Linked DNA regions of Homo sapiens: region 1 is linked to region 2. Evidence: promoter capture Hi-C in 16 types of primary human blood cells and fetal thymus (Javierre and others, 2016). All regions are on one chromosome and are shown on one strand. Each heading gives the region's core, a stretch centred on a gene start or on the middle of the fragment in contact. The rest is flanking DNA. Distances are from core to core; before and after follow the strand shown.

The links. The method cuts DNA at HindIII sites, captures the fragments that hold promoters and counts their contacts. A CHiCAGO score of 5 or more calls a contact.
Region 1: a contact is called between a fragment that was not itself captured here and the fragment with the promoter of CRYBG3 in region 2, in 5 of 17 cell types (non-activated CD4 T cells, naive CD4 T cells, total CD8 T cells and 2 more). The highest score is 8.5, in non-activated CD4 T cells.

The regions. Positions count from the first base shown.
Region 1 is chr3:98,325,401-98,329,722 of GRCh38, reverse strand. No RefSeq gene overlaps it. Among named protein-coding and RNA genes, the nearest start is that of OR5K4, 26 kb to the left of the region's middle. RefSeq lists enhancers at 1-96, 157-236, 1-524, 525-1,262, 2,691-3,289 and 1 more and a silencer at 2,624-2,683. The HindIII fragment of the contact is 5,045 bases long and covers 1-4,322 here.
Region 2 is chr3:97,819,893-97,824,892 of GRCh38, reverse strand. CRYBG3 (crystallin beta-gamma domain containing 3) reads right to left here and starts at 2,882. Exons shown (of 22, transcript NM_153605.4): 1 at 2,538-2,882. The coding sequence starts at 2,686. It overlaps LOC101929298 (a long non-coding RNA gene), which reads left to right and starts at 3,117. Exons shown (of 3, transcript XR_427389.3): 1 at 3,117-3,206. RefSeq lists a silencer at 2,736-3,105. The HindIII fragment of the contact is 1,453 bases long and covers 2,052-3,504 here.

The DNA of each region.
Region 1 (4,322 bases), core at 907-3,406, 510 kb before region 2:
TGGCGCCTGAAGGCAATGGACAGTAAACAGGCTTTAGTCATGCAGTTCCTTTGTGTATCTTCACGTTTTTTTATCTGTTCTGTGGTGCAAGGGAAGAGCTGTGATCCCCTCACCAGGTCTGCTCGTGGGCCTTGGGAAGTCACCTCCGATTGCTGGCACTCTGCCTAAGATTTTTGTTGTTGTCATTGTTGTTGCTAAGTCTTTCAGGCCATGGGGCTCCCTTAGGGAGAGGCCAGGTAGGGAGATAGGCTGCACCCTTACCAGACCAGCCCTGTGGAGCCAGACACAGCTAGGTCCCACACCAGCCTTCGAATCTGTGCAACTCAGCCCTCTCAGTCTTCCGAGAGAGTGTGGGATCCTCCTCCTTTCAAGTGCAAAGCACAGATTCCACCTTGGCACTCCTGAGCCCACATCCTTGGGGCGCCAGGACCTGTTCTCAGCTCCCTCCTTCGGATGCTCAGGGTTGGGTTCCAGGTGTGGTGCGTGATTGCAATGGCTCCCAGCTGGAACGCACTCAGGTGGAGCAAAGCATCTAGGCTGGGTAGTGGAGGTTGCACTGTGTAACTGCTCCTTCCAGGCAGCCAGGCAGGGGCTCTGGGAGGGTCTGGTGCTCAGTCAGCCTGCAGAACAGATGTGCCCCAGGCCCACGGGGAAGCAGGCCCTGCTTTCTCCCAGGGGTTACCTGGGGCTAGACTTTCTCAGAGGCAGACAGGCAGCCCTGGCTGGTGGGCTTTCATGACTGGGTTCTGCTGGAGCTAACCTGTGCTCTGCTCCATCTAATCTCTGAGAGATCCCCCTTGCCAGCTCACACATCCTAGGGGTGTGGGGCCCCTGTATTAGGTTCCCAGAGGTTTGTGGTGAGAGTGGGCAGTCCTCCAGTCCTCTCACGCACCGCTTCCTCAGGTGCTGTTCAGGGCTGGGAACCAGTTATAACATTCAGGCATCCCATGAGGAGTTCCCAGCTCCCTCCCTCTTCAGCCTCAGCAACTGCATCTTTTCTGTATCCATATTTGGCATTTTCTCTGCAAATAATCTGTTCAAATTATGTTGGTGTAGTTGAAATCATTGTCTTTTCCTGTGGGAGTAGCACTTCAGCTCCATCTAGTTGGCCACCTTGGTAAAACCTAAATTTTTAAAAATTAAATACCTTTTACTGTGCCAAATAGCCTTCAGGAAAGGGAAACTGGAATCAGGCACACTAACAAGGAAACTTAGTTACTATTGTCCAATGTGTCTCAGACAAGATTATATATCAGAATAAACTGGGTACCTTTTTTTGTGCAAAATATGGATTATAAGGTATTACTGTAGAAATAGTAGTTCAACAAGGAGGCCTAAAAGTCTCCATTTTTAACATGCTCCCCAGGTGACTCAAATGCATGCAAAGTGCTTAGTCCTTGTGTGATATGACTTTGGGGGTGATAAGGAGGACAAGGCAATAGATTCAAAAGAATTTAAAATGTAGTGTCATAAGGACTTAATGACATTTTGGATATGTAGGGGGTGACCAATGAAGGAGAATGGAATTATATGGGCTGGGCAGATGGCCATCAAAAACGCAGATTGAGAGCTCAGATGCATTGGCAAATTTGTGGAAGGAGAATGTAAAAAGTAAAGCAGAGGTTCCTCTTCAAAGACTTTCCTCCCCGTCTAATTAGGAATAAATAGTAACTTCTCTTAGAAGCAAAATGTATTCAAAGACCTGTGCTAACATTCTTAAATATCTGCTAGCCATAATAAAGAAATCAACGTACTTTATGTTCTTAGCTTCCACAATTTAGCCTAAATATTTGCCCTGGCATACTTATACTGGTCCAAGCAAGCGTTAGGTCATAGCCTGTTCCTCTTCCTTATTTAAAAGTGTTTTTACCTTTCTCAACATTCCACAAGTGACTTCCTCCTTTCTTTGTTCTCCTCTACCTTTGCCTCTTTTAAAAAGTTCTAAGTTGCTAGCCAATCGGGACAAATACAGAATGTGAGGTCCTGTTCCAGCCCACGGAAACCCGACACAGCAGTAGGGTGGATGCGTCAGGATGCATCTCCTTTTTTTGGTGTACTCTTGTGGCAGAACTGCTGGTGAGTGTACCGTTTCTACAGGAAGTAAAAATGACCTTACTAAATAAATTAAATTTATGTTCAAGTGCTATTTCTTTATGGCACGGGAACAAGCATTTCAAACAGAGAATCATCTGAATATCCAGGTCAGATGAACTTAGTAGTATGAATTTACTGGAACTTACTAGAAATAATGACTTGGTTTGGAGTAGATGAAGGAATCATTATGGAAGACCTAGCAATTGGAGAGTACACAAAGTGGAAGGAAAAACTCAAGGAAGTTGTATTACAGAGGTGATAATATGTATATGCCTCATTTATTAGAATTATTAGCCATCCCCTTTTCATCTACATGTGTCTTGGTGGTGGGAAGAAGTTACCACCCATTCTAGAAACCAGAGAGGTAGAAACACACTTTCACATTTATCTTGCACCTAGAGTGAAACACTTGATCTGAGTTTGGCCAGTCAAATTGTAACTGCCAGAGGGCTTCTTCCTGCTTGCTGCACAAACAAAATCAATTCACAGAGATGATGGCATTGCAGTAAAGGAAGAGTTTAATAGACATCAGGCCAGCTACACTATGTGGGAGACAAAGTTAGTACCCAGATGAATCTCCCCAAAGGCCTGTAGTTAGGGGTTTTTCAGTGGCAGTTTGGGGGAAGGAGTGGGGGTGGCCAGGTAATGGGTGCTTACTGCTGATGTGTTGGGTCAGAGATGAAATCGTAGGGGTTTGAAGCTGTCCTTCTGTGCATTGAATCACTCTGAGTGGGGCCACAGGAGATGGGTTGGTGGGTCCAGGTGGAGCCATGGGTGTCAGACATGCAAAAAAACCTGAAAAGATATCTCAAAAGGCCAATCTACAATACTGGTATTATTTGCAGGAATGGTTGGCAATCATTTATGTCTATACCTTAGCAGAATTCAGATTCCTCTCCTCCCCCAACCTGAGGGCCTTTCATTAGCTTTACAAAGGTTGTTGAGTTTTGGGGAAGGCCTATTATCATTTAAACTATTAACTAAATGTCTGTCAAAGTTAGTTCAGCCCAAAATCCCAGGAATAATTAAGGGAAAGGCATAATGGGAGGTGGGTTAGATAGATCTCTTTTACTGCCATAATTTTCTTACTGTTATAATTTCTGCAAAGACGGTTTAAAAACCAACCCTCCATAGTTTTGCAATTTGGAGAGGGAAGATAAAGGTACAGGAACAAAAGAGAATTTGGTAGCAAAGGCAGCAATGACAAGACTCTAGCTAATGCATCCTTGACTTTGGCAACAGTGGCATCAGCAGTGGAGGCTGTGGCACCCAAGTTCAGCAGCAGGAAGAACAGCCCTCATCAGCTAGTGTTGGAACGTGGCTTTAGCTGTTGACTGGCTGTCTTGCTTCCTTCTGTTTCTGCCTATTTTTCCAGCTGATCCTCCAACTTCCTTAGCATTTCTATTTTAGACAGATTTCCATGTAATAAACTTACTTCCTGTTGTAACTGAGAATCCTGGCTCAAACAAAAGAGAGACAACAAAGAGACCAGAAAAAGATACTGAAGGAAGTGATCAGAGAAGCAGGAGGGAAACTGGAAAGCTGAGAGTTGTAGACATAAAGAGGGAAGGATACTAAAGAAAGACAAAATATAGTACAGGGCTAAATGCCAAAAAAAAATGCTACAGCAAGACAAGGAGTGAGAAGAGATCTTTGAGTGTGAAAATTAAAAGATTTTTAGTGATGTTAGTAGAGCACTTGCGTCAGAGTTAAGGTCAGAGAGTAATTCAAAATAAATGGGAAACAATGGAAAATGCTACAGAAAGCTCCATGAAATGTGAAGAATGGTTGGCATGTTTTTACTGCCCATAGACAAATGTAAAAAAGAATTTCCCATAGAACAATTTAATAAAAGTTTTCAAAGGAAGAGAGGAGAGGAATACATTTAAAGGAGAAAGGGGACAGAGAAGTGGAAAGAGAATTTGGGTAGGTGAAAAGAAAACAAGATGGAGAACAGAGAAATAAGCAGAGAATTATGGGGTCGTAAATGGAAAAGTGCAGGAAAGACAAGCCAGAGAAGCAGAGGGGAAATACCAGAGAAAGACTGAAGTGGAAAAAAATGGAAAGGCTCAAAGGCTTTAAGATAAATATTTATCCTAATGAAGCGGCATTGTTTGTCTGGGGTAATATCTGAGGTTCGTTGCCTCATGCCAAGGAAAACAAGGACGCGGACACACCAGAGTGAAGTTAAGAGCAGAAGTTTAAAAGCAAAAGAAAGAGAAGAGCTC
Region 2 (5,000 bases), core at 1,633-4,132:
CTGGGCTTAACACTGCACCAGTGATTCTCAAACTGGGATCCACAGAACTCTGGGAGTTTTTGAGTTTCCTATGAAAACTTCAATTGCAGTTTTCCTTTTTATCATCTAAAATAAATTAATATAAGCATTTCCTGGAAATGGTCAACCACCTAATATGAGTACAATCAAGCAATTTGAGTGCCTACGCCTAAGTTGGGATATACAATAGTGTTGATGCTAATAGGCCTTCTTTAATTGTGACAAAGAAAGAATACATAATGAAGTGTTGTCACCAACTGAAGCCCATATAAATCACAGCACACCATAAAAACAAAGATTTTCCTATGGTTCAAAACAGTAAAATATTGGAAGACCTGTATCAAGGCATGGCAGCTCCCCAAAGACCTGGTGTTTGTCCCAGTACGCATTTTGTGAGCAGGCAAAAAAACAGTTTCAGGATGTTGTAAATTCGACTTTTACGGGTCTCATAATTATGTTTTAGTTTATTTTTTAATTTTGTACTCCTCTTCATCTAAAATCATCACTACAGAAGGTATACCCAGCTCTCATAATGATAAAAGTTTTTATGCCCACAAAGAGAAATAGCCAAAATACTCTTTCATTTTGAAATAAGATCACAGTGACAAATTGCAATTCTGTTTCCAATCTTGTTAACATCAGGGTGTTGTGTTACTGGGACATTCAGTACTATAAAGCGGTTCCATTTGTTTTATTAAACTTTCAATAAAGGCTTTGTGTTTGTTTATGCCCTTGAAATGAAAGATTTAAGCTCATTTAAAACAGTAAAACACCCACATAAAGGGTCATCTGCTATCCCCCTAACATCTGGCAAGTTCCAAAAAAGATGAGAACAAAATTAGCGTTGATATAAGCACAATTAAAATCTTCATCGTTGAAAAGCCATAATTTGTGCCAATCTGGAGATGATGAGAATAGAGAAGTGGTAGGTGAACAAGGAACTAGTTGCTGGAGGGGTCAGCTCCAGTCAGTAAAGAAATTAGAATTGAGAAGTGCCTTAAAAAGCCAAAATAGGGCAGAGAGGCAAGCAGGATTTCAGGCCATTACTGACATGAGCCTGAATTTGACCTGCTTACTCCTTTCTAACACTGACTCTCAAGTTCCCAACTTTTGCTGCGCCTACTTGGGATTTCCTTGCAGACTGCGTTCATATTATCCAAGACTGTTAGTGCTGTTACGGCGGTGGCAGGCACCACAGGCTGTCTGCCCACACCAACAGAACTAGCTGACACCCTGGATGAGATCTGTCAGACTTAAAAACTATTTTTAACTTCTGTGTAACTTTGAATTTTAAACTCTCAACAGTCAGAGCAATAATAGCTGAAACGTCCCAGGAGAATAACCACTCAATTATCGTAGGAGCTTTCTTGGAAACATGTGGCATGTTATTAACAGACGGTCATAATGAAAATGTTTCACAAGCGGGGAAACCGAGGAACACACAAACGACTAAAATCACATCACAAAATCTGAATACTAATGGAATTGGCTCACTCTCAGTTCTGTTTCCTATCCATTTTTTTTAAGCCCACCAGGAAATCTTGAGTCCGAAGTAAACACGGTTTTCTGGAGTGTGTCCTTCCAATGACAATGGTCATTCTAGTGCAATCTCGGGAGAAGACAGTGTAAGCCTCTCATAAGTTTAAGAAAGCGAGCTGCGTTTTACTTAACCCCTCTTTCTTCGGGGGGATGAAAAGACTCAGAAACAGGCATTTAAATGAGGCATGTCTAAAATTTTTTGATTTTTGAACATGGGAAAGTGAAGGAAAGATAAAAATATTACAGAGAAAGGGTACATTTTGATTACTGAAACCAAGACAGCTGGAAACCTGATTTCCAGAATCTGTTTGGGAACTTGAGGCAGATGTTTCTAGGAGAGATGAGAAATAAAGAAGGGTGGCGTCATTTACATGTCCAGTCCATTTTGGTGAAAGTCTTGGGAACGCATTATCACAATTCCTTTTAAAAATCATTTTGAGAAAATTTAAATAAGATGGCAAAAATACCAGCTGAGGGGGTGACGCCCCAAAGCTTTACCTTTTCCACTTTTGCCCCGATCTCCTCCCACACAAGTGGTGCTGGGATCGCGCCCCCAATTCCCCTGGCCGACGGCTCCGCTCGGCTCACAAGTGTTTCCCATTACTGCAGGCGGGACGCCGGGGAAATCGCTTTTGCCACAGAACTTGGAGAGTAGAGCGTGTGTGGAACGGGAACCCAATCACGTCCGGGCAGGGGAAAGTGGGAAAGGAAGAGCGCGGAGCCAGGCGGGGATCGGGGGATATGCGTCCGGCTGCCGGGCAAGAACTTCACCCCGATTTAACCTGCAGAGGAGAGGCGAGTAGTGCGGCACGGGAACGGGGCAAGGAGGAGGAAACTTTAGCAATGGAGGAAGGAGAACAGAAAGTGGCGAGCGAACTGCAGCCTGGCCCAAGAGCGGCCCGCTGCCGGCGGTCAGGCCGGGAGCCTTCATCCCGCGAATATGTGCAGGGCCCCCCCGCGACCCCCTCCTCGACTCCCACCTGGCAGCGGACCGGCCTGGAGCTGGAGGCGGGCTCGTCCCCGGCCTCTCCTCCTCTTCCTCTTCCTTGTCCCGGGAAGGACTTCGGGGAGCGAAGAACCGGGAGAAGCTGTGCCAGGGGGCGCTGCCCCTTCTGCGGCCGCTGGACATTTCCCGAGGGGGCCGCTGGCCCGGGGCTGTCTGAAGGGAACGGCCTAGGTGTTGCCTGGTGCCCGGAGCCCGACCGGGCGCCGCGGGATGCGGCTAGGGCAGACCGACTCGACGCGAGCTGCCAGCGCGGCTCAGTCTCTCTCGGGCAGGAGAAGTGCGGACGCGACGCGCTCCTCGCGCGGCAGCTCCTCACGCCGCTGCGGCTGCTCCTCCTCCCGCCCTCGCCCGGCGCGGCCCGCCCCACCCCGAGGAGGAGCCAGTGGCCGCGGCACCGCCCTGAGCCGGGCGCAGCCGCCACCGCTGGGGCGCTACGTGGTCCCCCGAAGGCGCCGGCCTGAGAGCCTGAGGGGAGTCGCCCAGCGTGCGACGCTAGGCTCGGGCTTACGGCTCAAACAAGTTCAGGCTGCAGCCTGTTGGGCTTTGCCTTCAATTACTTTCTGTGACCGTTGTGTTTTCTATTCTACAGTCAGAGCACAGAAACGGTTTTCTTCGGGCTTTTGAAAGAGGTTTATGAACTAAGGTTTGTGAAAACACTTGGCAAACTGCAGTACCGGGGCGCCCCGGACTTGCTGGGAGCTAAGAAACAGCTACCGCAAATACAGCTCCAACCCTGAGGGCGAAAGTCGCGTTAGCACAGAACCGGGCGGCGGGAGGGAGAAGGGGGTACCTGTCAGGCGGTCACCACCTCCCGGCGCGTTCTGCTGGCTTTCTGTGGTGTGACTTTTCCTAACCGCGCTGTGCTTCAGACTTTTCACACGCCATACTTCCCTGCGAACTCTTTCAAAAACGGCACTGATCAAAAAGTATGATTTCAAGCTTGTCAATGCTGCAACATATTTTGCAGTCGTTACACAGATGCCACTGAAATCTGGGAACCAAAGGGTGCTTAAGACTTGTTTTAAGTCTAAGTACAGTGGTATGGATTTTTCTTGGTTTTTCATACCCTATAGCAGCTAGTACAGGAGATACTGAGAGGCCCATTCACCCCAAGTGTTTTGTTTTTGTTTGAAGGCAAGCTGCCCCTGGAGTAGACGTCAAGGAAGTGATATGGCTTTTGTTCATTAAAAAATGTATACAAGTAAATGAGATAAAAATGAAATGTCCACAGCAGAGGGGAGCCTTGGAGTAATCTCCCCTCTGGCTTTCGGGTGCTGGAGGAGAAGGTTGCTCATAAGTAGATTGCATACCTATAAGCCCCAAGTCCTTTCAGCACCTGCTGGAGGCTATTGAGCCTCCCTGCCTCCCCACGCTGCCTCCCAGAAGCCCTCCAGCTCCTACTAACTGCAATAGAGCCAAGACACTCATTCTCATTTGTTCTGGCAGGATTTAACCCATTAAAGTTCAGTCAGCCCGATTTCCATCAATCGGGTTCATCTCAGTCTATCCCTCAAGATTAATCCTTTTTTACTCTTTGGTAAATTTTTCCTATTTCTCTGTGAGCCTAGTCTGAGAAAATAGAAAAAGACTAAGATAATAGACTAGAATAAGACAAGTTCCCAATTCTAGCTTTATTATTTTATAAGAGAATCTCCACTGAAGACCCACTTACCAAAAAGCCCAAAGAGAGTAATAAAGCAAACTGTTTCTTCCAGCTAAAAGGCCCAAATGATAATTTGTCTTCCCAACGTATTATTGAATGACTATCACATTTGTCCCTGACTTGTTCTGTGATCAAACCAGGCCCCAGTGCCTACCCAGAGGGTACTTCGTTCAGGAAGTTTTTCTTGGAATAAAAATGGGGGGGAGTCAATAGGATTTAATTAATGAATTATGGTTTTAACTAATAATATATCTAACAATACTCTGATCTCCACTCGGTAGCACAGCAAAGCACTTAAGTGAATGGTAAATACAAATAATGCCATGTTTACACTAAGACAAATTGCGTCTATGACAAAATAGCTTAAAGTCATAAAACAATGACCATTGAATTTTCCTTCATTTGCTTTCTGAGCACTTATTAGTTTTCTATATGTCCTACATTGTTATAACCTGAACTCATATGAACAAATTTCTAAATACTAAATTCTAAGATTGCATTAGGAAGCCTGTAAAAATGTCAAATTTTAGAGCTGTAAGGATCTTAGAGATACTAATTTAGCACAGTGTCATTAATTCACTGATCCAGTTATTCCCCGACGTTTAGTGAGTGCCTGCAGTAGAAGCACATCTACAGTGAAGCCGATGAGGCTCAAGTTTCTTGGCTCCCTGCTGGCACAGTCTCTTCCAGTGTGAACTCAGCAATGGGATCCATGGCCAGTTTTATCAAATTTACAAAAGTAAATGTTTTAATGTGATTAAGACCACAATCTCT